3 separate regions of the Homo sapiens genome follow, and regions 2 and 3 are each linked to region 1. Evidence: promoter capture Hi-C in 16 types of primary human blood cells and fetal thymus (Javierre and others, 2016). All regions are on one chromosome and are shown on one strand. The core of a region is centred on a gene start or on the middle of the fragment in contact, and the rest is flanking DNA. Distances in the headings are between cores, read along the strand shown.

The links. The method cuts DNA at HindIII sites, captures the fragments that hold promoters and counts their contacts. A CHiCAGO score of 5 or more calls a contact.
Region 2: a fragment that was not itself captured here is called in contact with the fragment with the promoter of SLC36A3 in region 1 in 2 of 17 cell types (M0 macrophages and M2 macrophages); the score reaches 8.7 in M0 macrophages.
Region 3: a contact is called between a fragment that was not itself captured here and the fragment with the promoter of SLC36A3 in region 1, in 1 of 17 cell types (M1 macrophages). The highest score is 6.3, in M1 macrophages.

Annotation. Positions count from the first base shown.
Region 1 is chr5:151,301,756-151,305,295 of GRCh38, forward strand. SLC36A3 (solute carrier family 36 member 3) reads right to left here and starts at 2,011. Exons shown (of 10, transcript NM_181774.4): 1 at 1,472-2,011. The coding sequence starts at 1,599. The HindIII fragment of the contact is 21,144 bases long and covers 1-3,540 here.
Region 2 is chr5:151,653,905-151,657,444 of GRCh38, forward strand. LOC105378231 (a long non-coding RNA gene) reads left to right here. Exons shown (of 2, transcript XR_944417.3): 2 at 130-1,545. LOC124901116 (a long non-coding RNA gene) reads right to left here and starts at 601. Exons shown (of 2, transcript XR_007059007.1): 1 at 562-601. The HindIII fragment of the contact is 2,524 bases long and covers 392-2,915 here.
Region 3 is chr5:151,615,979-151,619,518 of GRCh38, forward strand. No RefSeq gene overlaps it. Among named protein-coding and RNA genes, the nearest start is that of FAT2, 26 kb to the left of the region's middle. RefSeq lists an enhancer at 3,431-3,540. The HindIII fragment of the contact is 286 bases long and covers 1,422-1,707 here.

The DNA.
Region 1 (3,540 bases), core at 761-3,260:
CTCTTGCACAGCAGATTCTGCATGAATTACTCTTTCTCCATTGCAATTCCCCTGTCTTGATAAATCGTCTCTGTCTAGGCAGTGGGCAAGGTGAACCCATTGAGTGGTTACATTATAACAAGTGCTTTGATAAAAATTATGCACTCTTGTGCTATTATTTCATCAGAAAAAATTCCTAGAGGGGTATTATTAATCAAAGGGTATATTTATTTATATTTCATTATACTTTAAAGAACTAGATTGTAATACTTACAGTACAAAATTCAAAAGATAAAACGCAATAATCCAAATCCTTATGAAACAAATATAAATCTCTTTTCTCTCAGCCTCCAAATTCTCTTCCCCAGAGGCAACCACTGCTGTCAGTTTTGTGTGTGTGCACGAGTTGTATACTTTCAGACAGCATTTGCCAAATAAATATTTGTATGTTTTATACAAATGACATTTTACGATTTGACCTGTAACATTGCCATCTAGAAAGATACCAATTTAATTCTTCCCAAAAGATGAGAGAGGGCATTTCCTGATATCCTTATCAACACTGGGGATTGTCATCGATAATCTCTTTGTGCCCACAGTTGTTACCGATCTGATGATTACCAGATAGCAGTGTGATTGACAGTAAGTCCTAGAAGAAGAGTTCTGTTGAAATCATGTCCTTTGCAGGGACATGGATGGAGCCGGAAGCCAGTATACTCCGCAAACTAACAAAGGAACAGAAAACCAAACACTGCATGTTCTCACTTGTAAGTGGGAGCTGAACAATGAGAACACATGGACACAGGGAGGAGAACAAGACAAACACTGGGGCTGGTTGGGGGTGGGGGGCAGGGGATGGGAGAGCATCAGGATAAATAGCTAAGGTATATGGGGCTTAATACCTAGGTGATGGGTTGATAGGTACAGCAAAACCACTATGACACACGTTTACCTATGTAACAAACCCGCATGTCCTGTACATGTATCCTGGAACTTAAAATTAAATTAAATTTAATTTAATTAAAAAAAAAGAGAGAAGAGTTCCATGTGTCTGAGTTTGGGGCAGTAAAGGTGGAGACATGGGGTTAGCACCTTTTGTTTTCTGGATGGATGGCATGGGGGGTTGGGGAGAAGAGGCAGAGAGAATAATGGCAGATGTGTGAGGAGAAGAAGGCAGCCAGAGACTGTGGAAGAAAGAAAGGGAGGAAGGAAAGGGCAGACAGCCTGAGATAGGAAACTGTTCCTGGAGACAAGCTGCTCATGTTGAGGGTGGCTGCTCTAGCTGGGTTCTTCGTAAAAACTGGGAAACAGGGCTAGTAGCCAGAGCCACAGGGATTGACCTCCTTAGATTCTGAAGGTTTCATCTTTTATCCACGCATATCGTGTTAATGGAATAAGCGTGTTAAGGAGATAGATGAAGGAAGACATAGTCCAGAGTTGCAAAAACAGCAGTGCTTGACCTCAGGCCTGGAAGGGCGGTGCGGCCACTTACGATAGTCCAGCTTCTCCAGCAGGATGGACATTCTCTGAAGTAATGCTACTGCTGCTCTCTGAGGGTGACTGAGGTCCGTTGTCCAAGGAGTTCAGCTCACTGTTGTAGTCCCTTCCAAGCAATGACATCTTCAACACGGTGGGTAGGTGGCAGAGGCTCAGGGTTAAGGCTCTGAATGAGCCTCTGATGGGTCTTTCTCCAGAGAAACCATGGCTGCTGACCTGAGATGCTGGCTCCTAACCCCAAGGATGCGTGCTGCTGGCTGAAGCCTGAAGTGCATGAATCAGGGAAGCGGTGGTGGCAGGAGAGGCTGATGTTGATGATGCCTCACCTGGCTCTTGGGGGACTTATGAAAGACCCATCTCAGTCAGGATGGTCCTCAGTTTCACTCGCAATTGCTTGCCCAACCAGGACTTGCCTGGGCTTTTGGCCTCTCCTAGTTTAGCCCTTGCTGCTGTAGGGCAAAGTGAACAGTGTGACTGGGAGGAAGAAGACACCATTGGATTGGAGGTCCTGGTGCCTGGACGTGGGGCCAGGCTCAGTGCTTGTCTGTCTTTGGCAAGGAAAAAACCAGAGCTACCTCACAATGGAGGCTGCCCAGCCAATGAGCTGCAGCAGAATCCTGGGATGCAGATGTGGCCCAACAGAACATAATCCAGCTACCATGTTCCCTGTTTGGGGTGAAGAGTGGCTTGTAAGGCCCAGTTCAAATGCCACCTGCTCAGAATTTCTATACAGGAGGCGTATGGCCTGCCAGTGATTTGGAAGGGAGTGCAGGTCATGTTTAAAAAAAATCATTTGTTCAGAAAATATTTATTGAGCATCTAATATATGCTAGAAACTGTTCTCCATGCTGGGAATATATTAGGGTAGAAAACTTACTACAATCTCTGTTCTCATGGAATTTACAATCTGGAGGGGCTGGGGGAGACAGACAATAAACGAAACAAATATATCAAGTATCTGTTAGTAAAAAGCGGTATAGAGAAAATCCAGGCAAGGGTAATGGAGAGTTTCAGCTAGGGGGAGGGTCGCAATTTTAGATTGGGTGATCAGAGAGGGCCTCACCTAGAAAGTGACATTTGGGCAAAGGGCTGAACAAGATGAGGGAACACAACTCATGTAGGTCTTGGGTAAGAAACTCCTAGCAGAGGGGCAAGAAGTGCAAAGGTCCTGAGGCAGGAGAGTGCCTGGGGTGTTTTAGGAATGGCAATGAGGTCATATGGCTATCTGGGAGCACACAGAGGAGAATGGATTCGCCTGGTTTGTGCCTATTGCCCTGGCATAATTACTAATGGTGCCTCCCTTCATTATTAAAAGTATCCTGCAGCTGAGCGAGGTGGTGCACACTTGTAGACCCAACTACTCGGGAGGCTGAAATGGGAAGATCGATTGAGGCCAGCCTGGGAAACCACCCTAAAAATGAAATAAAATAGGCCACGCTCAGTGGCTCACACCTAAAATCCCAGCAATTTGGGAGGCCGAGGTGGGCAGATCACCTGAGGTCAGGAGTTAGAGACCAGCGTGGCCAACATGGTAAAACCCCATCTCTACTAAAAATATAAACATTAGCCGAGCTTGGTAGCATGTACCTATAGTTCCAGCTACTTGGGAGGCTGAGGCAGGAGAATCACTTGAACCTGGGAGGTGGAGGTTGCAGTGAGCGGAGATCGCACCATTGCACTCCAGCCTGGGTGACAAGAACAAAATTCCATCTCAAAAAAAAAATAAAATAAAATAAAAAGAGATATCCTGGTTTGGATGATAATTACATGGTCACACCAGAGATGTGGTTAAAGAGGTAATGAAAGCGGGATGGAGTGGGTGGGCAGGATCTTGTAGGCTATTGTAACAACTTTGGATTTTACTTTAAGAGAGATGAGAAATCATGGAGGGTTCTGAGCAGAGAAATGACATGACTTAAACATTTTGACAGGATGTCTCTGGCCATTTTTTTTTTTTTTTTTGCGAGCAGATTGAAGGGGTGCAAGGGATATCAATTAGGAGGCTATTACAATAATCCAGGAGGGTGTTGCAGTGACCCAGGTGTCGGTCTGTAGTGGCTTAAA
Region 2 (3,540 bases), core at 404-2,903, 350 kb after region 1:
TGTGAGCCACCACCCCCGGCCGAAGTTATGTTTTATGATAACTACTTGCATTTCTCCTTTCATTTTACAGTTAAGGTATCATATTGATTTGTTAAATTTAATTTATCTTGTCTATGAATTTTATTGCAGAGTAGTATGAAATATTTGTATTCACTTAAAGTGGAAAGACAATCTGCACACCTGGAGGAGATATTTGCAACATTTACAACTGGCAAAGGTTTATTACCAAGAATATATAAAGAAGTCTTATAAATCAACAAGAAAGAAGAAAAACAACAGAAAGAAATGGACAAAAGAAAAAGCATTTTATAAAAGAAGAAATGCTCATGGCCAGCAAACATATGGAGATGTTCAAACTCATGTGAAATGTAAATCAAGACCCAATAAGATAAGCTTTTATGTCCACTAAAATGGCAAAATGTTAATAGCTAGACAATCCAAGTATTGGAGAACATACAGATCCATGGGATCTCTTACATATCGCTTATAAGGGTACGCATTAGGACATAGGACACTCACTTAGAAAAAGTGTGGCATTATCTTGCAAAATCAAACACTCACATAGGCTGCTGTGCAGGTCCTGAGTCTGTTTGCCCTCAGATCCACTCTTTGCTATGCCCTTATGTCCTCAGTTTTCCAGCAGGATCTCGGCAGCCATGTCATCTTGCTTCCAGTTGGGCTCAGTTAATAAAAGAGAGAGAATGGAAGGTGGAAAGAAGGGAGAAGCCAAGGTGTTTCTCACCAGCACCCTCCCCTTCTCCTCTCAGGTAACATCCCCTGTGGTGGCCACAGCTCTCCGATGGGTCCAGTTCCCACAGGAAAGCCAGCCATGATTCTAACTTCTACCAGGTGACCCTGGCCCTGGGCTCTGGTGACACTAACCTTTTGTTTCTCTAGTCCTGGGGAGGGGTAGTAACAGCTTCCTGCTATTATTAATTTATGGATTGCCTCATTGCCTCCTGTGAGGCTTCTCAGCTATTGATTACCATACTACTCAGCAATAAAAAGGAAAAAACTATTGATACATGCAACAACTTTGTCGGACCACAAGAGAATTTTACCAACTAAAAAAGCCAGTCTCACATTGTTACATACTATATGATTCCACTTACATAACCTTCTAGAAATGACAAAATTATTGAGGTGAAGAACAGATTAGTGGTTGCCAAGGGTTAAAGACAGGGTTGGGGTTGGAGAAAGAAATCAGTGTACCTAAAAAGAAGCAGCCAGAGGGATCTTTGTGGTGACGGGACAGTTCTGTATCTTGATTGTGGTGGTGGTTATACAAATCTACGTGTAATAAAGTTTTATGTGTGCATAGAACTATGTACATACTCAAACAAATGCATGTAACCCTGGTGAAATCTGAATAAGGTCTGTGGATTGTGCCAATACCAGTGACCTGGTTTTGATACTGTATTATAGCTATCTAAGACATTATTATCAGGAGAAAATGGGGGAAAGGTACATGTACTTTTCTGTACTATTTTTGCAACTTCTCGTGAATCTGTTACTATTTCAAAATTAAAAGTATCTGAAAATCCATAGAGTGGTTTCTGTTTTTTCTGATTAGACCCTGACTGATACTCCTACAACCCCACAATTCCTTCCGCTCCTAGATGTATATTTACCTAGCAGATAGGCCCCAGAGAAACTCATAAATGCATGTGTAGCAGTTATTCATGACAGAAGAAAACCCAACCACTCATAAATAGGAAAATAAATAAATTGTGGTACAAACACGAACAAAATCTTATACAGCAGTGCAGATGAATGTAATATGCTATACACAGCAATATGGATAAGCCTGAACTCATAATGCAATGTTGAGTGAAAAGGGCAGGGCTCAGGACATTATTTATAAGTGTTTTATCAATGTAAAAACACAGCATTTGTTATAAATTTTAAAATTACCTAAAATGATACAACATATTGCTTAGATATATACAGGTGCATGTGTGGGTGTGTTTTTGCTTATGTTGCTGTGATATTTATTATTATTTTTTCCTAATCACTAGAAAATGTGGGAATTATATTAATTGTTAAACATAAGGGAAGGATAGGTCAGGCGCAGTGGCTCATGCCTGTAATCCCAGCACTTTGGGAGGCCAAGGCAGGTGGATCACCTGAGGTCAGGAGTTCGAGACCAGCCTGACCAACATGGAGAAACCCCGTCTCTACTAAAAATACAAAATTAGCTAGGCATGGTGGCACGTGCCTGTAATCCCAGCTACTTGGGAGGCTGAGGCAAGAGAATCCAGGAGGCGGAGGTTACGGAGAGCCGAGATTGTGTCATTGCACTCCAGCCTGGGCAACAAGAGTGAAACTCCGTAAAAAAAAAAAAAAAAAAAAAAACCATAAGGGAAAGATAAACACAAAATTCAGGAAAGTGGTCACAGAGCGGACAGGATAGAGAATGAACATAGGTGTCGCCACTGTTCCAGTTCTCATGTGGGGAGGCAGGCTCATGGGTGTTCAATATATTATTTGAAAGATGATAGATGATAGATAGATAGATAGATAGACAGGTTGATGGATAATGGCTAGATGATAAATAGATAGATATATAGATAATAAATAGACAATTGATAGATGACAGATATAGATGATTGATAGGTAAATAGATGATTGATAGATAAATAGGTAGCAGATAGATTGATTGATCGACTGATAGATAAAAGCAAAAGAGAGTCATGCAAAGACCAACCAATGACAGTGAGTCATGAATCAAGGATCACAACGAATGGCTCTACGACTTGAGGTCTACTGCATTATCTATGTCTCCATTTATTATTAAAAGGAGGTATGGAGTCTAATAACTCTGGGACCTCCAATCTAATGAGAACAGAAATCCATGTGCTCTCGGATTCAGAAAACTGATGCCCATTCTTGTGCCCCATCAGGGTTCTTCTGAAAGCTTTTTGGTTTCTCAGACTCCAGTATCCATCTGTCCTATCCCTAGGTTCCAGGCTTTTTCTACTCTGGACTTGCCAACCTCTCATTAGTTAATTCATTTTCTTAACACAACTTGCTCAGCATTTAGTATGTATCAAGTGCTCAGACCTGGAGACACAGCAATGAGCAGAAGACACCAGGTCTCTGTCCTCATGGAACTTACATTTTGTAGTTTGGTGGGGCAGACTGGGAGGGGGTGAAAGTTGTTCGGGAACAAAAGCAAATAAACAAGATAATAATTACAGCTTGTGGTCATTGGTATGAAGGAGAGATGGGAGTGAGAGGGGCAGGCAGCAAAGCCTTTCTGAGAAGGAGACATCTGAACTGAGAAGCAGAGGGTGCAGAAAAGGCAGGACTAAAGCTGGGGAAACAGTGCAGTTCCAGAGGGGACAGCGAGTGCAAAGGCCTGGAGGCAGGACAGACTTTGGCCTGTTTCAGGAACAGAAAGGAGGCCACTATGCCTGCAGTGTACTGACTGAGGGCATAGTGATAGCAGACTCCAGAGGTCATTTACAGGGAGGGCACCAGCTGTGACCAAGATACAACCTGAGTCTCCTGGCACTTATTTTCCTGTTTGCACAGATT
Region 3 (3,540 bases), core at 315-2,814, 310 kb after region 1:
TGCCTGTGTCTGTGTGAGATATGTATATGTGTGTCTGATGTGGACACATTTATACATGTGTCTATGTGTTTGTGCCTGTGTGTACAGTACCTGTGTCACTGTGAGTGAACATGCACATCGTTCTGCCTGAGGGTCTGTATGGATGTCCTTGCCTGTGTAGCTCAGGGTGTCCCCATGCTTGGCCCCGGGCCAAATGATTCCAGCACCTATAATCTTTTGTTGTTGTTGTTGTTGTTGTTGTTGTTGAGACGGAGTCTTGCTCTGTTGCCCAGGCTGGAGTGCAGTGTTGTAATATTGGCTCACTGCAACTTCCGCCTCCCCGTTTCAAACGATTCTCCTACCTCAGCCTCGTAAGTAGCTGGGATTACAGGTGCCTGCCACTATCCCTGGTTTACTGTCACTGCAACTTCTGCCTCCCAGGTTCAAGTGATTCTCCTGTCTCAGCCTCCCGAGTAGCTGGGAATACAGGCGTGCACCACCATGCTCAGCTATTTTTTTTTGTATTTTTAGTAGAGACGGGATTTCACCATGTTGGCCAGGCTGGTCTCGAACTCCTGACGTCAAGTGATCCACTTGCCTCAGCCTCCCAAAGTGCTGGGATTACAGGTGTGAGTCACCACACTCAGCCCAGTGCCTATAATCTTCACCACTACATTCGACTGTTGACCCTGTGGGGAACAGTCACCACTTCTTATTTTCTTACTATGGTGATAACATAGCAGACATTCAATATGTATTTATTGAATGAATATATCAGAAACGTCCCCACCTGAACCAGCTCCCTGGAAGCTCCAGGAGTCCCAAAGAAAAGGCCCAGTGGAGAGAAGAGCTTCATTCAGGTTGATTCCTTCCTAGCTCCAGGACACAAGTCTGAACTGATCTTCCTGACCCTCAGGGGCTTTTGCTCAATGTCCCCCTCTGCCCTGGTCAGAAGTCAAGACACAAAAGCTCTGGGCTCTGCCATAACCTTGCTCTGTGATCTTGGGTAAGTCCTTTCCCTCTCTGGGCCTCAGTTTCCCTATCTGATAAAAGAGCAGATCAGACTTCTGGATATCAAAAGGCACACTCAGACTCAGCATGGTGTGGTTTTTACCTTAGAGTTCTTCATTCAGTTGCCCCCTGCCCATCTAGATATTGGATCAATGTAATCGTCCCTCTCAGCTCCTTCTCTGTCTACTTATGATCCCAGCTAGGCAGCAAGCAGAGGTCCCAACCAGGCCTTGTTCGTTAGGGCTTCATGCTATTGCTGTGAGTGCCTGTCGGTAACCCCCAGGCATCATAATTCAGATCACCTTTGCTAAAAACAGGCTGGAGGACATTTACAGTCTTGGGAAGGGAACATCTTGGGGAAATGGTGATGAAAAATGCAGTCTTCTAATACCCTGGCCTTCTGGGCCTGTGGAGGAAGGAAGGATTCTGTAAGCTTATTTTTCCAGAGAGCTGGGTTGCGGAGGGGGTCAGAGAAGAGGCAGTGTTGGTCAATGCATTAAACTTTTCTTTCGTTGTAACCATTTCAGGTGGGAACCTTCTGTAGTTCTACTAGGTGCTTCCCTGCCTTTTCAAACAAGATGCGAAGCATGATTTCATCTTTCCTTGATGACTCAGGACCATCACAAAAACATTAACGTTTGAATTAAGTTTTAAAGCGGAGGTGTCCTCAAAGGCTGCAAAGATATTTTAGACTATTTGCCTCTCACTGAAAGGCAAAGCTTTTCTTTTTTGTGTTTAATCTTCTCTCATTGACACTGTCAGCCGTCAATTATTCCAGGGGCCCTTCTCTCTCTGTCTTCTTTATGACAGTGCATCTATTAGATAACTACATGTCTGCATTGGGTATAAAATGGATATGTAATATCTGAGCAAGGGACTCTCCTATGAGTCAAGTACATAGTAGAAACCATTGCGGCTAGTCAGAAGCCTTTCTGTCTTCAGCACTTACTAGCTGTATGGCCCTGAGCAAGATATTTCTATGACTGAGTTTTCCAATCTATAAAATGGGACTAATAGTAGTATCTGCCTCATAAGGTCATTGCAGCTCAATGTAAAGTTACATGCAACTAAGCACTTAGCACACTGGATTGTAATCTTAGCTACTCAGTAAATATTTGTTTTATTCTTAGCTATTTTTTTAGTCTGAGTTTTGGATCAATGACATTGCAAGATAAGTACTTGACTCATTTTCAAAGAATGCTTTGAGCTACCTGCAAGTAATAGAAAATCCACTAACAGTGGCTTAAACAAATAGGTTTTTGTTTGTATTATATTGCAAGAAACACACAGGCAGACAGCTGTTGGCTTTTGTTCAGTAGCTCAGTGATATTAGGGCTGGTGTCACTGCAGTTCTTTTGGCTTCTGCCTCATAAACACAATATTGCTGCTGAAGCTCCAGACATCACACTCACTTTCAAGGCAGGGGAAAGGAGATGGGGTGATGCTGGCTATGTCTACATTCCCAGAAGCCCCATATGTTTTCTTTCCTAGCTGATTGCTCCTATGTTTCACAGTCTAGAACTAGGTCACACGGCCACCACCAGCTGCAAAGAATCATGAAAAACAAGAAACAGGGATGTCGTGATTAACTTTCACCACCATTCCATCTCTCCTGGGACTTAACACATTGTCTCTCCCTGCTCTCATTTCCCAACCAGGGTTTTTTTAGTGAGAAGGAGAAATGGATATTGGGTCAGTAACTAACATTGTTTGCCCAGTAATTATTATTTTTCTTTTTTTTTTTTGTCTTAATAAGGAATTTGATTGCAAGTGACAGAAACCCAAATCAGACTTGCTTAAGCAAAAATAAGGAAATGGATAGAAAGAAAAAGGGACCAAAGAAGAAAAGGAGACAATAAAAGAAATGAATTGACTCATATCCAGGGAGAGTTTGTCCTTAGGTCTAAGTATGAGGCCAAATGAGCAAACAGCGTTGTCAAGAGATCACCCTTCTCTGCTTTTTGGCTATTTTCCTTTGCATTTACTTAATTATCAGGTAGTTTCTCCTCACCTGGTGGTCCCTGGGAGCTCTAAGTTCACATTCTCCGAGGCTATTGTTCAGCTGAGAAAAGAGTGAGTCATTTCTCTCTGTCACTCAAGCAAAAGTCCCAGGATGAATATTGATTGTCTGTGATTGGGACACAAGCCCAACCCTGAGCCAATCACAGTGACCACAGGGAACTCATGCTCTGATTGGCAAAGCCAAGTCTCACACCCAACTCTGGAGCATAGGTTGGGTCCGTTGCCCCCAACCACTGGTTAAGCTTAAAGACTAAAGTAGACTGAACCCCTCCTGAAAATCAGGGGCAGAACCAGAGGGAGGGGAAATGGATGCAGAGCACATGTAGAGCTTTGCAGTCTTCAAAGTACATTATTCCACACAGACACCTATGAATTAGGGAAAGCAGGGATTCTGGCCCCATTTTGCAGTGGCAAAACTGTCTCAGAGAGGTGACATGATGTGTCCAGAGTCATTCAGCTCACAGGTAGTCAGAAAGAGTCCCCACGCCTCCAGGATCCTGGTGTTTCCCTGACACCACATCCTGAGAT